Regions from separate parts of the Homo sapiens genome. Here region 2 is linked to region 1. Evidence: promoter capture Hi-C in 16 types of primary human blood cells and fetal thymus (Javierre and others, 2016). All regions are on one chromosome and are shown on one strand. The core of a region is centred on a gene start or on the middle of the fragment in contact, and the rest is flanking DNA. Distances in the headings are between cores, read along the strand shown. Region 1 holds the start of ALG1 (ALG1 chitobiosyldiphosphodolichol beta-mannosyltransferase). Region 2 overlaps UBN1 (ubinuclein 1).

Region 1 (4,537 bases), core at 3-2,502:
TTCAAACGAACACCCCCTGCCCCCAGCCCATGGATTCAGAGGATTCTGGAGTTGACGGCATCCTACCTGCAAGACTCTGAAGTTCTGTCAACCCCACAATCTGAATTCTGTTGTTCTGCAAGAGCTCATCATGGGGTTTGGAGTCTGAAAAATGAGAATGATCCCTTTAATGTACCAGAAGCAGCAATCTAAAGTCAGATAATCTCCCAACTCAGGCTGAATCACGGACAGTGTTTTGGAAAGTAAGATATTTCAAAACCTCTCTCTGCTCCTCACTAGCCAGAACAGAGAATGCGGCCAATTCTTGTTCAGATTGCTCTAGGAGGCACACAGAGATAGGGCCTGAATCTTACCTACCTTCACTTAACATGATGCCTGGCAAACAGTAGGTGCTCAATTAAACTAATCTAGATTGTCTGGATAGTGGAATTTTCCCACCACAGAGCCATCCCTAGGAAGTCCCACTCTACCCCATCACCCTAGGATAGCAGATTCTAAACAGGGATTAAAGGCAACTAGTGCTGTTCCCACTTCTTCCTGAGATGGGGTTGAGCTACCCTCTCAAGATACCAACGTGGAGAATAATGAGGGAGCAGACACCGCTGCCCTGCACACTGTGGGGAAAAGCTGGACATGAAGAACAAATGAAAACATCTGTCTGCAGAGCTCTGCGTTGAGGGATGAGGAATGAAATATCCTGTCAGCTCAGACATAGCCTGACAAGGGTAGCTGCACAGGGACGTAGCTACCAGCACTAGCCCTGGAGTTCCACGCACCTGGGTTCCACTTACTAGGAGAATTACGTGAGACCACGCAATGGATTCACTTAACACACTTCTGACACGTGGCAAGATTAACGCCGGCTATACCTAGAGACCCACCCAGGAAAGGCTGGGGCAGAACCGCTCGTCTAATCTCGGAGAGCTGCCCAAAGGCGGCGACTAAAGGAGCACTTCCGCCTCGACTCCCCGGGGCGGTTAGAACCGAGGATCAACGGCTGAGAGAGCATCGTCCCTCCCAGACCCTTGGCCACTCACTGCAGAACCCCAGGAGGGTCACCGAGAAGCCGTGCATGGCCAACGACAGCGCGTGGTACTGCATACGGGGGCTGCGGCCCACGTCGCCCAGCACCACCGCTACTACATGCCGGGCCGCCCGCCCCCGGCGCCAGCGCTTCCATCCTCCCAGCAGCAGCAGCGGCAGCAGCAGACACAGCGCCAGCAGGACCAAGCATGAGGCCGCCATCTTGGCTGGCCCGCAGCAGTCACGTGACCGCGCTTCCTCGCGCTGTGCGCAGCCGCAGACCGAGCCTCCGAAGTGGGCCGAGAGGGCGAGAAGTGGACGCGGTTCCCTAACAGGGGCCCGGGGAACCCCCAGGAGCCCCTCGGGGCCAAGAATTAGTAGTAGTAGGACACACGCACATACACCAGATTCCCTACACACCAGTGTATTTCCCCGACTAAAGTAAAGCTGTTACTGTATTGGGATCTAAGAACTCTCTTCAGGATTCAAAGATAATTTCAAAATATAGTGACACAAGAATTTGGATAAATTTCATCCTAACATTGATAAAGGAGCCAGATGCTGACGAGTACGAATTGTAGAGTTCCGTCTATGTAAATAAAAACCAGTCCTCGCTGTTAGAAGTTAGGGGCTGGTGGGTTCTGCTTCTGGATCTGGTGCTGGTAATGTGGGTGTGCTGCATTTGGGGCGGTACCTCAAGCAGCAGATTACCTGCCCATTTTCCAGGGTGTACATCACACTTAATAAAACATTTAAAAGGTAGAGAGGGGGAAGGACAAACAAGGAAGTAAACACCATCATGATTTTGCTTAAGTATCAATGGCTAGAAAGGAAATTTCCACAGTGACCCTCCAATTTCACCTCCCAAAGTAGCCATAGTGAGAGTTTAATGTGTGTCTCTGCGATGGCCTGTATTAGTCCGTTTTCATGCTGCTGATAAAGACATACCCGAGACTGAGCACTTTACATAAGAAAGAGGTTTCATGGACTTACAGGTCCACATGGCTGGGAAGGCCTCACCATCATGGCAGAAGGCAAGGAGGAGCAAGTCACCTCTTACATAGATGGCAGCAGGCAAAAAGAGAGCTTCTGCAGGAAAACTCCTTTTTATAAAACAATCAGGTCTCGTGAGGCTTATTCACTATCACGAGAACGGCACGGGAAACACCTGACCCCATGATTCAGTTACCTCCCACTGGGTCCCTTCCACACAACACATGGGAATTCAAGATGAGATTTGGGTGGGGACACAGCCAAACCGTATCATGACCTTTTTTCTTTGAAAGCGGTCCCTTGCAGAGAAACACCAAGAGCTCACTGGTGATGCTACCCCATTGCCTCCACTTGGGAGCTGCCGCAGAACCTGGAGAGCCACCACCCAGACCGTATTCAACAAACAAACAAGACTCCTCCCCTGATGAGGACCACAGGCAGCACCCACGGGACAGGGTAGCCCACATGGATGTGGCTCCCCAGTGTCCCTGGGCTCAGCTCAGGGCTTGGCACACTTTGCATCTGCTTTTCACAATTGCCCCATCACTCCCTTTCTATGGATTCAGAAGGGACAGCTCACGCCTTAAGCCAGACCTTGAAACCCGAGCTTTCAGAAGGAAAGGAAGGACGAGTAAGTATCTGCAGACAGCAGGGATGGGCATACAAACATGCTGGCAGCGGCATTTATCCTCCAGTTCCCAGCGAGGCCCCTGCCTCCAGGTTGCGTGTGCTGGGGTGGAGGCCTGTGACACATCGCCTGCCCAACTCTGTCGACGCTCTGTAATGGGACAGGTAGGGATCTGGGACCTCAGCCTCAGGACTCCTGGCTTTCCTGCTCCACCTCGGGCGAGTCACTCCCCATCAATTTGCTTTCTTCGTCTGTGAATTAAGGGAGGGGAACTTCAAGTCTTTGAGAGCCTGTCCTGCTCTGATGAGCTAAGAGGATAAAGACTATGGTGATGACAAACCAAAAGTAGATGCCTCCCTCTGGTAGGTGAACCTCCGTCGGGGAGGGAGTTGCCGTGGTGTCTCCTGGAGAGAGGGGACGGAGCCATCCCCAGCAGGGGGGCGGTTTCATAGCTGGGCCAGCCCACCTGTCCGGCTTTCTCACTTGGCATCCATTCCACATGAGATCCAGTCTTTCCAACAATCAAGAGGATATATGGATAAGTCACTCAATCTCCCTTGGAGCCTCAGATTTTGTTCAAGTTGACTGAGCACCCACTTGAGGGGTGATCAAGGATTAACAGAAGTAATGACAATGACAAGCTTCCCCTAGAACCTCTGTTCCCAGTGGTGCTCCCAAGGGGGCAAAAATGGCTCTTGGGGAGCAAAACATCCTTACCCTTTTTATGTATAAAGCACAGATAATGATACAATACACAAGCATGCAGTATATCTGCAGTATTAAAATTTTATGAAGGCTGAAAGCAGTGGCTCATGCCTGTAATCCCAGCACTTTGGGACGCTGAGGCGGAAGGATCACTTGAGCCCAGGAGTTCAAGACCAGCCTGGGCACCATAGTGAAACCCCATCTCTACAAAGAATACCCAAAAAATGGTGGTGGCGTGTGCCTATAGTCCCAGCTACTCGGGAGACTGAGGTGGGAAGATCACCTGAGCCCAGGGAGGTCGAGGCTGCAGTGAACCATGATCATACCACTGCACTCCAGCCTAAGTGACAAAGCGAGACCCTGTCTCAAAAAAATAAACAAGTAAAATAAAATTTCATGGGGCAGTACATAAGGAACCCTCATCTTCTGCCAGTGGGCACGTAAATGGCCCAGCCACTGTGGAAAACAGTCGTATGGTCCCTCATTAGGTTCAACATAGAATTATCACGTGACACAGCAATGGCATTCCCACGTATACACCCAGGAGAATGAAAAACAGGTTTTCGAACAAAAACTTGTAAACAAACATCAGTACTGTCCACAAGAATCAAATCATGGAAACAATCCAGAGGCTCATCAGTGGATGAGTGATGAACAGAATGCGGTCTGTCCACAGCTCCCACAGCCTCCCACCCGAGGTTTCCCAGGTGTCTCCTTGTTTGCTTGTTTGTTTGTTTGTTTTGAGATGGAGTCTCACTCTGTCGTCCAGGCTGGAGTGCAGGGGTGCCGTCTCGGCTCACTGCAACCTCCACCTCCCAGGTTCAAGTGATTCTCCTGCCTCAGCCTCCCTAGTAGCTGGGATTACAGCCCTGCACCATCACGCCTGGCTAAGTTTTGTATGTTTAGTGGAGTCGGGGTTTCACCATGTTGGCCAGGATGGTCTCAAACTCATAACCTCAAGTGATCCGCCCACCTCAGCCTCCCAAAGTGCTGGGATTACAGGTGTGAGCCACCACGCCCTGCTCCAGGTGTCTTGTTTTCATTTTATTTTATTTTATTTTATTTTATTTTATTTTATTTTATTTTATATTTCATTTCATTTCATTTCATTTTATATTTTGAGACAGAGTCTCACTCTGTTACCCAGGCTGCAGTGCAGTGGCCCCATCTCGGCTCACTGCAACCTCT
Region 2 (4,573 bases), core at 1,486-3,985, 200 kb after region 1:
ACAAAAAAAAAGGTCAATGGATTGGGGAGCCAAATTCCTGGTGAGAGGATCTCAATGGGACACACTGGCTGCCCAAAGGCTGAGTCTGGCCTTTACCAAGAAAATGTATGGCTCTGCCTCAAACCTCTCATGGTGATGCTTCCCTAAAGGGCACAGCACTTTCCTTATTGCCTAGTCCCTCCATTCCAGGAATAAAATGTGGAGTGACCCAGCATGTCTTTGTCCAGAGAAACTCAACAAAAACGTTCTTCGTATGAGTCCAGCCTACGTAGAGAGGACAGCAATTTCAAAGGTTCCAAGATCTATCCGCACAACAGATGATTCGAGTCCAATCAAGAAAATCACTCCAGCTAACTTTCTCTGTCCCATGTATGACACAAATACTTCATTCGCAGGAAGTGACTTCGTACAAGGTAGCCTCTGAGATGGAAGCCTGGCACTTAGTTCCAATAAGGAGTCAGCCCTGCTACCTGCAAATGACACTTCTTCAGGAACATCAGGAAAGACCCAAGATGAACCCATCTCTCAAATGCTCATAGCAGCCTGTATGTTAAAACAGGAAGTGTGGCCGGGTGTGGTGGCTCACGCCTGTAATCCCAGCACTTAGGGAGGCCAAGGTGGGCAGATCACAAGGTCAGGAGATTGAGACCATCCTGGCTAACACGGTGAAACCCCATTTCTACTAAAAATACAAAAAATTAGCCGGGCATGGTGGCAGGCACCTGTAGTCCCAGCTACTCGGGAGGTTGAGGCAGGAGAACGGCGTGAACCTGGGAGGTGGAGCTTGCAGTGAGCTGAGATCATACCACTGCACTCCAGCCCAGGCAACAGAGCGAGACTCCATCTCAAAAAAAAAAAAAAAAAAAAAAAAAAAAGGAAAGTGCATATTGAGATGGGAGGCCAAACATCAACTGAAGTGGGACAAAAAATGACAAAAACAAAACCCTGGAGGCAACTTCCCTTCCTCCAGGGAAGATCCAGAAGACCCTTTCCCAGCTACCTGCATGTCCCCCAGTTACTCAGGTGAGATCAGAGTTGAGGCAGCTAGACAGTGACTCCCTGTGAGCAAGGATCCTGTTGGCCTGGCACAAAAGCAGCGTTCAAACGTGTCTTGACTGCACAGATGCCCATCTCAGCACACGGCCCTCACCTGGCCTGCATCCAGCCTTTGGGCCAGAGGGGCTTGACTTCCGCATCCAGAAAGCCCTTCACACAGTCCTCCCAAGCCTGGGCTTTGTTGTTCCTCTCCAGGTCCTGGCTCTCCAGTTTGATCTTCACCACCTGGCACAGTAGCTCCCTGAGAAGGAGGCAGAAATCAGAAACTCCAAACTACTTCAGATGCTGCTCCAAGGTTCCAATCATGTGCTTTCAGCAGCCCTGATGAAAGTAAATGAGCCTAACCTTTGTCAGCAATAGGGGACGTGCTCAGACACTGCCCCACCAACCCTCCAAAGAGGCCAAGTCCCAGTGTGGGCACACCTGATCTCATCATTCCATTGGAACTTCTTCCGAGGTCCCATTATCCTCCTGCCCCCTTTTTCTTCATCTTCTTCCTCATCCGAACAAATCCGGTCCCTCTGCTCCTTGTCTTTCTCCTCTTCCAGCATCCTACGGGGTGAATAGAATTACATGGGGCCCCAAGGTGCTCCTGCCCACCGCCTCTCCCCTCACTCTGCACTACTGGGACTTCACAGAGAAGGAGAAAAGGCCAAAGAAGAGCCAAGAGGCTCCTTGGGAAACGGCAGTACACACCGAGAAACGGGAGGGGAAGAGGCAAGACGGGAGGGTTGCACCTGCAAGCGCCAGGACAAACTTACTTGGCAACCTTTGCCTGCGTGTGTGCCTGGCATTCGTCCTGGTACTTGGCCATCTGCTCTGGCATCGCCCTGCCAATGGCTTCCTTGAGCTTCTGGAGAGGCTCCTTCAGACGGCCCCCCTGCGAAGAGCGGGACACAATTCAAGGCAGGTTTACACATCGCTCTTACGCTCAGGACGCATGATGGGGTGATCACAAGGAGGCAGTGGGGCAGCAGACGCATCATTGCTTAAGACTCAGTCACCCCTCCGCCAGGACCCCAAAGCCAAAGGGCTTCACTCTAGAGTCACCCACCTGTTCATAGAGGTGAAGTTTCCGAGCACGCTTGAGCAGGGCATCCTTGCTGCAGGGCAGGAATGACGCAAGATAGGCATACACCCCAGAGCGGACCTGACTGCTCAGCTCCCGAGTCTGCGCCTCTATGCTGAAGAACAAAACACAGTCACCACCGGCTGCAGCTCACTGCAACTCCTGTCTTCATCAGCTCACCGTACGTGGAGAGGAAAGCTAGGAGCCAACGGCAGTCAAACCCTGTCTTGTTGGTCACACAATGTAACTGAATGCCCAAGGAAACACATCCTCAGCAATCAACAAACAACAACAACTCCCAAGCCTGATGAACATGGCTAGGTAATGTGGGCCAAGGCTCTTAGGTCACAATACCAGGAAAACAGAGCCCAGGAGAACAAGCTCTGAAGCACTAAATTTCATAGAGAAAACATGAAAGCTTTCAAAGTGGAAAGTCATGAGTTACTTGGGGTTCAAAGGAGACACTTCCCGGCAGCATTTCTTTTTTTTCCCCCAGTCCCCACGTTTATCAACCATTATGAGGTCAGGGAAAGCCTCACCCCTCCAGTTTCTCCATCTAGATAAGCAAAAAAATATTTCTCTTCAATGCCTTGAGCTGTCCACATTTGGCACGCTCAAGCAGGTTCCTTGTTGACACAATCCTATCGTCCGCACCAATGCTCAGGTGCTCTCTGCAGCTCACACTTCCTGACCCAAGGGGCCAATCCAGGTCCCGGCCAGGCGAGGCCATGTGGTAGAACACCCACATTTTGACAACTGTTCTTACACACACAAACTCCTCAGCTGTTGAGCAACAAGCTTCCCCTGCCACAAACTGCAACCAGGAGAAAAGCGGCAACACTGCAGGCCAGGCCACAAGGATTCACTTTTCCCAGTCTGGATTTACAAATGTTTGCTCATCTGTTTTTTAACCCGATTCACACAGCGTGGTGTCTCAGAGGCTCAGGCATGTGGGAACAGCATTAGGGATGATGCACGTGGCACTAGGAACAGGAGTGCCAGCGAGCGGAACAGCCAGGGACGCCAAGCAACACCCAAGGCAGAGCAGGCCCGAGGCCACCAGGCTGTCTCTCATTCTTCAGGATTCTCAGAGACAGTCAGGCAACACCTTCTCTCTCTCCTCATCTCATACCTGCCAAGAAATCCTCTTCTAACAGGCCATGATTATCACATGTTATTAATGCCTGCTGCCTAAGATCAAGGAGGTCTATCGCTTCTGGAGACAAGTACTTGGTGTCCCTGTTGTGTTTTGATTTTTAAAAGAAAAATAACAATGAAACCATGTTAATCCAATTCTTCTTTTATCTCCTTGGTGGTCACCTTTATGCAGTTCAATTGTACTCCCACTGTCCCCTAGCTGGCTTGCCCCAAGCTCAGTAATAGCAGAAACAGACAGACAGACAGACAGACAGACGATACTCACTCTAATAGGATTCCATTAATATCCTGGGTGAAGAACTTCTGTCTGCTCTCCCCCTCAGCAGCTCTGGCAGCCTGGTGCACAGCAGACAGTAACAGCCGTTAGTGCACTTTCCCCACATGTCCCTTACGCTCACCCACAGGCACAGGAGTCATCGCTCCATAAAGAGCACCTGTCAATACAGTCACACCGCCACCTTTCCAACTCCACCCTAGTCCCAGGTTAAGTTCGCCTGCGATCAATATTCTCTTTTCAAATGCTGCTGCAGCATCTGTGGGCTGCCAGTTCTTCCTGGGACTTAAAACAGTCACAGAAAAGAAAATCAGAGTCAAAGCCATCACAATGCACTTAGCCAGAGGCCAATAAGGCCAACTAACCCCTGCACCCATACACCATCAACTACACCATTAGTTGGGATTTCCATGTATCTACAGTACAAAAATATTCAAGAACTTCAACCAGTCTATAGGATTTAAAGGCCTTTTTATCTACAAAAATAATAATAATGTGTAGCTCTAACACTTAAGGACATTAAAACTCTTTGACAATTCCTAATCTACTTATGGTATACCACGAGCTCTCTATTAGCCAGACCATGTGAATAATTAACCCACCATATTACCTATTAACACCAGATTATAGGAGTTTCAGTACAGTCTTAGTTTGCTTTCGAAAAGAACACAGTTAACACACACCCTGGATGGCAAGCTCAGAGACCCCTGAAGCAACCACGGCAGGCAGCCACGACACAGCGGGAACACAAAAAAGCAGACCCTGTGGAAGTCTGCATCAGGGTTCTCACACTTGGTTGCATATTGGAATTCCCTGGGCAGCTTGGAGCAACTCAGGCCATTCAAATCACAGTCTCTGGAAAGGAGATTCAGGAATGCACACTCTCAAAAGTGGCCCAAGTACTCTTTCAAAGCAACCCTGGGAACACTGATGTGCAAAAAGGGCTGGGAACCATTCCTCTCAACCCAAGAGCTGCTGGTCTGAAGGCTTTGGGTGAAATAAAATTTCTGAAATCA

What was found. Contacts are between HindIII fragments. The CHiCAGO score rates a contact against its expected background, and 5 or more counts as called.
Region 2: a contact is called between a fragment that was not itself captured here and the fragment with the promoter of ALG1 in region 1, in 1 of 17 cell types (M2 macrophages). The highest score is 6.1, in M2 macrophages.

Annotation. Positions count from the first base shown.
Region 1 is chr16:5,068,558-5,073,094 of GRCh38, reverse strand. It overlaps ALG1 (ALG1 chitobiosyldiphosphodolichol beta-mannosyltransferase), which reads right to left and starts at 1,252. Exons shown (of 13, transcript NM_019109.5): 1 at 1,038-1,252; 2 at 67-144. The coding sequence starts at 1,245. RefSeq lists enhancers at 793-852, 1,023-1,132, 1,163-1,222. The HindIII fragment of the contact is 10,202 bases long and covers 1-3,287 here.
Region 2 is chr16:4,867,879-4,872,451 of GRCh38, reverse strand. UBN1 (ubinuclein 1) reads right to left here. Exons shown (of 18, transcript NM_001079514.3): 8 at 3,549-3,619; 9 at 2,111-2,240; 10 at 1,818-1,936; 11 at 1,480-1,608; 12 at 1,151-1,297. Among named protein-coding and RNA genes, the nearest start is that of UBN1, 23 kb to the right of the region's middle. RefSeq lists a silencer at 1,469-1,654. The HindIII fragment of the contact is 380 bases long and covers 2,546-2,925 here.